Linked DNA regions of Homo sapiens: region 2 is linked to region 1. The links are contacts of gene promoters, found by promoter capture Hi-C in blood cells and fetal thymus (Javierre and others, 2016). All regions are on one chromosome and are shown on one strand. Each heading gives the region's core, a stretch centred on a gene start or on the middle of the fragment in contact. The rest is flanking DNA. Distances are from core to core; before and after follow the strand shown. Region 1 holds the start of ZNF256 (zinc finger protein 256). Region 2 overlaps ZNF529 (zinc finger protein 529).

The links. The method cuts DNA at HindIII sites, captures the fragments that hold promoters and counts their contacts. A CHiCAGO score of 5 or more calls a contact.
Region 2: a fragment that was not itself captured here is called in contact with the fragment with the promoter of ZNF256 in region 1 in 1 of 17 cell types (non-activated CD4 T cells); the score reaches 7.3 in non-activated CD4 T cells.

The regions. Positions count from the first base shown.
Region 1 is chr19:57,945,929-57,948,963 of GRCh38, reverse strand. ZNF256 (zinc finger protein 256) reads left to right here and starts at 1,258. Exons shown (of 3, transcript NM_005773.3): 1 at 1,258-1,522. The coding sequence starts at 1,490. RefSeq lists enhancers at 1,020-1,109, 1,180-1,279, 1,770-1,849. The HindIII fragment of the contact is 12,388 bases long and covers 1-3,035 here.
Region 2 is chr19:36,546,112-36,549,041 of GRCh38, reverse strand. It overlaps ZNF529 (zinc finger protein 529), which reads left to right. Exons shown (of 5, transcript NM_020951.5): 5 at 720-2,930. The coding sequence ends at 2,176. Among named protein-coding and RNA genes, the nearest start is that of ZNF260, 19 kb to the right of the region's middle. The HindIII fragment of the contact is 7,809 bases long and covers 1-2,930 here.

The DNA of each region.
Region 1 (3,035 bases), core at 9-2,508:
GGTTGTGGTGAGCCGAGATCGCACCATTGCACTCCAGCCTGGGCAACAAGAGCGTAACTAATGGGGGCAAAGATAATCATTTCAGCGTTGAGAAGAGATCTTGAATTTAAGATACACCCTACATTTGGGATTCAGAGCACCCTTTGTTCCACCTGTTAATGCTCTAGCTAGCCATCATGCCTTTTCAAAATACCATTCCTTTTGTTGTTCTCTTTCTGAGCTTGATGTCAAATTATTAAAAAGAAGTGAATATAAAGGCATGGAGAAAGTGAGATTAGATTCATGCAAGTGTTGCTTAGTGAATTGGACACAATGTTTGACTACACAGGCACGAGAGGGACCCAGAGACAGGGATCTACTTATGTCCTGCTGCTGCAGGGTGCCTCCGCATCCCACCTTCATCCTCTTTGTCATGAACCTGTGTGGAGTGTTTTTTTTCTTGTCCCTAATCAAACATACAGAGACTGAGAAAACTGACTCCAGTGCTTGAGTGCATGCGTTTGAATTGCAACATAGTCTTTTTTTTTTTTTTTTTTTTTTTTTTTTTTTGAGACAGTGGCTCGCTCTTTCCCCCAGGCTGGAGTGCAGTGGCGCGATCTCGGCTCACTGCAAGCTCTGCCTCCCGGGTTCAAGCTATTTTCCTGCCTCAGCCTCCGGAGTAGCTGGGGACTACAGGCGCCCGCCACCACACCCAGCTAATTTTTCTTTTTTTTTTTTTTTTTGTGGTATTTTTTGTATTTTAGAGACGGGGTTTCGCTGAGTTAGCCAGGATGGTCTCGATCTCCTGACCTCGTGATCCGCCCGCCTCGACCTCCCAAAGTGCTGGAATTACAGGCGTGAGCCACCGCGCCCGGCCGCAACATAGTCATATTTATTTGCTTTCTCAACCAGTGGATATATTTTGTGACTGACTGACTGTATGTAATAATATGTGCATCTGGATATGTGCCTCTGGGAACACATGAAATGACACGTCTCCAAACAAACACTGGCAGACAGCAATCGGTAGAAACCTGGGTACGTCTCCTTTAAGAAAGAACGAAGCCTCGCCTCCGCCCCAACCTGGAGTGTCCATTTCCCAGCGCCCCCTACAGGGGTTTGGCCTTTACTTCCGGAAGGAGGTGGAGGCGACCCTCACTCTCCCGCCGTGCGCCTGTGGGAACATTACCCAGAATGGCCTGCGTTGGGCGACGGCGACCTTCAGCCAATGAGGCCTCCGAAAGGTGGTGTTTCCGTAAGCGCACGCGCGGTCGCGGCGGGACTTCCGTTGTCCTCCTTGTGGCGGTCGTTTTGGCATTTGTCTGGACTGATTACTTGGTAGAAAGCCCCGGAGCGCTGGGTCAGCATCATCCGTGACTGACTGAGAAGGCGCGAGAGGAGTCTTCCCCGCTGCACAGAGGCGTGGCTGAGGCTCGGCGGCGCCCAGGGTACCCAGGCCCGGCCCGGAATAAGGACATCCTCTCTGGCCCCGCTCCGCTCACAGAGTCAGATGGCGGCGGCCGAGCTGACGGCCCCGGCCCAGGTATGTGCCGCGTCCTCTGGGCCTTCCCCGCCCTCCCCACGCTAGTCCTAGCACCCCCGAGGGCGCTTGCTCGCGGCCCTGCTGCCCAGGACAGGACACGGGGGCTCGCCGGAGGGGCTCCCGTTTCCAACACCTGGTGTGCTAGGGAAGGGAGGGCGCGACTGGCAAGGAGCCCCTGATGAGAGGCGCCACTGAGCCCTGGGGCACAGAGGTGACACAGCCATTGCGAGGGCACCCGGCTCCAAGGCCAGGCATGGGGCTACGGGGTGGCTTGAGCCCATCTAATACCGCCATAGATGCTCTTCTCTGAGGCCTGGCTCTTTCTACGTTTCCCTTGGCTGTAAAGGGTTATGAAATCTACGCCAGGAAGGGGAGGGTTTCCCAGTCTCTCACTAGCCCTAACTCCCACCCACAGGTTCTCTGGGTTGTGGAGTGCCATTCCCCCAGCCCTTAGTTCTGAAGACCTTGGGTGAACCCCAAGCCCAGGGTCCTATGTCCATGTTAGCCGGTATATAGAGTTGTTCCAATTTCTGGCAGCCATGTGAACGGGTGTGGAAAGTTTTTCCAGAAAGGTACAAGATGTGCAAATGCTTAGGTGCAGTACGGAGCTGGGTGCATTTATGAAGCCACAAGTCTCCTTGCTTTCTGGTGGGAAGCAAAGAACAGGAGGATAGGCGTCAGGACTGCAGTGGCTGCCTGAGAAGTTGAGTGTGTTTTCAGGAGGTAATAGCAAGTTTGAATCAGAAAAAAGAGGTAATTTACCAAGGTCTTCACAGGCTTCATCTGTGTGCACAGTGGGGCACAAACTGGGGGGTTGAGGGAGGAGGAAGGAAAATCAGGGTAGACTAGTCCAAGTGAGGGTTACTGGCCCAGGATCGTGATTTAGGAGATGTGGTTAGATTCCGGATGTGTGGTTTCAAAAGGGACAACTAAATTACATAATGTAGGTGGTGAGGGAGTGAAACAGAGGGTTCAGAGAAGACTCCAGGGTTTTTGGTATTAGCAGCTGTAGGGAAAGAAGTTTCATCAACTAAGATGAACAAATTGGCAATAGGAGTAATATTCACTAGGGATATCAGGTTTGTTTATGCCATGCTAAGAGTCAGATCTTTCAGAGCCTACTAAATGGAGGCGTTAAGTGGGCAGATGAACGTGCCGGTCTTGAAATCTAGGGAGTGGTTCAGGGTGCAGATATTCAAGATGTGGCTGTTGTGCGCACCAAGGTTAGTGAGCTGTGGGTCACAGTTAGGCGGGGCAAGCTCCAGGTTTTGGTTGTAAAGCTGTTAGTGGGCCAAGACTGGGAGGATGATGATAGAGTAAGTGGTCATGAAGGCAAGGTATGTAAAAGACAGTGTAGTTTGGCAGTGGCCACGGCTCCCAAGAGAAGAATGGACATGAGATGGATGCAAACGCATAGGACACTCAGGCCAAAACTCGTGCTTATTCACCACTTTATGGGTATCCAGGATTTTGTGATAACTTGATGGGGCCTGGGTGTTTCATTCAGGCTGGA
Region 2 (2,930 bases), core at 382-2,881, about 21 Mb after region 1:
ATGATTAGGAGAATGCGTTAAAATGAGGTGGTTTTTTTTGAGACGGACTCTCGCTCTGCTGCCCAGGCTAGAGTGCAGTGGTGCAATCTCAGCTCCCTGCAGCCTCCACCTCCTGGGTTCAAGCAATTCTTGTGCCTCAGCCTCCCAAGTAGCTGGGACTACAGGCGCATGCCATCACGCCCAGCTGTTTGTATTTTAGTAGAGGCAGGGTTTCACTGGTCACAAAGTTCTGAGCTCAGGTAACCCACCCACCTTGCCCTCCCAGAGTGCTAGGATTACAGGCATGAGCCAACACGCCCAGGCAAAATGAGGTCTTAACAAACTGCACCTTGTTATTATCCTCGGTAAAATTTATTTTTGGGGAGGAAAACCACAAAAGTGTTAGTATATATGGATTATCAAATTTTGATCTGCGTTAGCATTACCTCTACAAGATGCTAATGACTAGTTCTACATCTACAGATTTTGATTCTGTTTAACCAATGAGCTTACCAGGTGATGACCAACACACAAATTTCAGATCCACTGACTTAATCTGTTACCTTTATCACAATCCTCATAATCTTTATGTTCTGCTGTTACTCTGTGAGCTCTCTTTATCTTTCATGACAGTATTTTAACCAATTCATGTATATGGTGAATTATTCTTAAATTGTCTCTTCTTTCTATAACTGTTTTATTTTTGTAGTACATGAAAATTATTTTTTCCTTTCTTTCAGATTTGGAGTCCAGGAATGAGACTAAGCATTTATCTGTAGGAAAAGATATTATTCAAAACACTGGTTCTCAGTGGGAGGTAATGGAAAGTAGCAAGTTATGTGGCCTTGAAGGTTCCATTTTCAGAAATGACTGGCAAAGCAAAAGCAAGATTGACTTACAAGGACCTGAAGTGGGATATTTCAGTCAAATGAAAATCATCTCTGAAAATGTGCCCAGTTACAAAACTCATGAATCTCTTACTTTACCTCGGAGAACTCATGACAGTGAGAAGCCCTATGAATACAAGGAATATGAGAAGGTCTTCAGTTGTGACTTAGAGTTTGATGAATATCAGAAAATACATACTGGTGGAAAAAACTATGAATGTAATCAATGTTGGAAAACCTTTGGGATAGATAACTCCAGTATGTTACAACTGAATATTCATACTGGTGTGAAACCTTGTAAATATATGGAATATGGGAATACATGTAGTTTTTATAAAGACTTTAATGTATACCAGAAAATTCATAATGAGAAGTTCTATAAATGTAAGGAATACAGAAGGACCTTTGAAAGAGTTGGAAAAGTTACTCCACTTCAAAGAGTTCATGATGGTGAGAAACACTTTGAATGCTCATTCTGTGGGAAATCCTTTAGAGTGCATGCACAACTTACTCGACATCAGAAAATCCATACTGATGAGAAAACTTACAAATGTATGGAATGTGGCAAGGACTTCAGATTTCATTCACAGCTTACCGAACATCAGAGAATTCATACTGGTGAGAAACCCTACAAATGTATGCACTGTGAGAAGGTTTTTAGAATTAGTTCACAGCTCATTGAACATCAGAGAATTCACACTGGTGAGAAACCTTATGCATGTAAGGAATGTGGGAAGGCTTTTGGAGTATGTAGAGAACTTGCTCGTCATCAGAGAATTCATACTGGTAAGAAACCCTATGAATGCAAAGCATGTGGAAAGGTCTTTAGAAATAGTTCATCCCTGACTAGACATCAGAGGATTCATACTGGTGAAAAACCCTATAAATGTAAAGAATGTGAGAAAGCATTTGGAGTAGGTAGTGAACTTACTCGACATGAAAGAATTCACAGTGGTCAAAAACCTTATGAATGTAAGGAGTGTGGAAAGTTCTTTAGACTTACGTCAGCCCTTATTCAACATCAAAGAATTCATAGTGGTGAGAAACCTTATGAATGTAAGGTATGTGGGAAGGCCTTTAGACATAGTTCAGCCCTTACAGAACATCAGAGAATTCATACTGGAGAAAAACCCTATGAATGCAAGGCATGTGGGAAGGCCTTTAGACATAGTTCATCCTTTACCAAACATCAGCGCATTCATACTGATGATAAACCCTATGAATGTAAGGAGTGTGGGAATTCCTTTAGTGTTGTTGGGCATCTTACTTGCCAACCGAAAATTTACACTGGTGAGAAATCATTTGACTGAAATAAATGTATAAAGTGGTTTTTTATTTCTGATTTTCACAGGAAAATACTGTGGATGGATTTAATAGGTAATCAAGGCAATTCAGTATCTCCCTCTCTTAAAGTCTGTTTTTAGACTTCATGGTCATTCTGTATGTAGACGTAGAATTGCTTAGTCATAGCTGATATATACTTATAGCTTTGTTAGATGTTGCCAAATATTTCTCCTTTTTATGTTAAAAAGTTTTTTTCATGAGTTTCTCATCCTGGCATGTTTTGTTTACAATAGCTTTTGATGTTTGTATTATTGCTCTTTTGACTATTCAGTTTTTTAATTGTAATATTACTTCAATATCTTTTCTGCATTGTAATTCTTTGCTTGTGATATCTATACTTACTTATTTTCCTCCACAGAGTTAGCACTCCTAGTCAGATACAATGTATTTTTACAGTCTTACAGCTCATCATTTTGTGTAATGTTGTTTTGTTTTGTTTTAAATGATAGAAGTGTGATCTCCTTTCCATTTTCATCCAATTGTTGACTTCTCTTTAAATTTCTACTTTATTTTGATACAACATATTCCCCCCAAAAAAACACATACATAGGAACTGGTTATATTCCACCATAACACACACACACACACACACACACTATATACATATAGTGTATATACACATATAGTGTATATAGTGTATGTGTGATGTATACTATACATATCACATATACTATATGTGTGTATATAGTGTGTGATGTATATGTGTGTGATGTATACTAT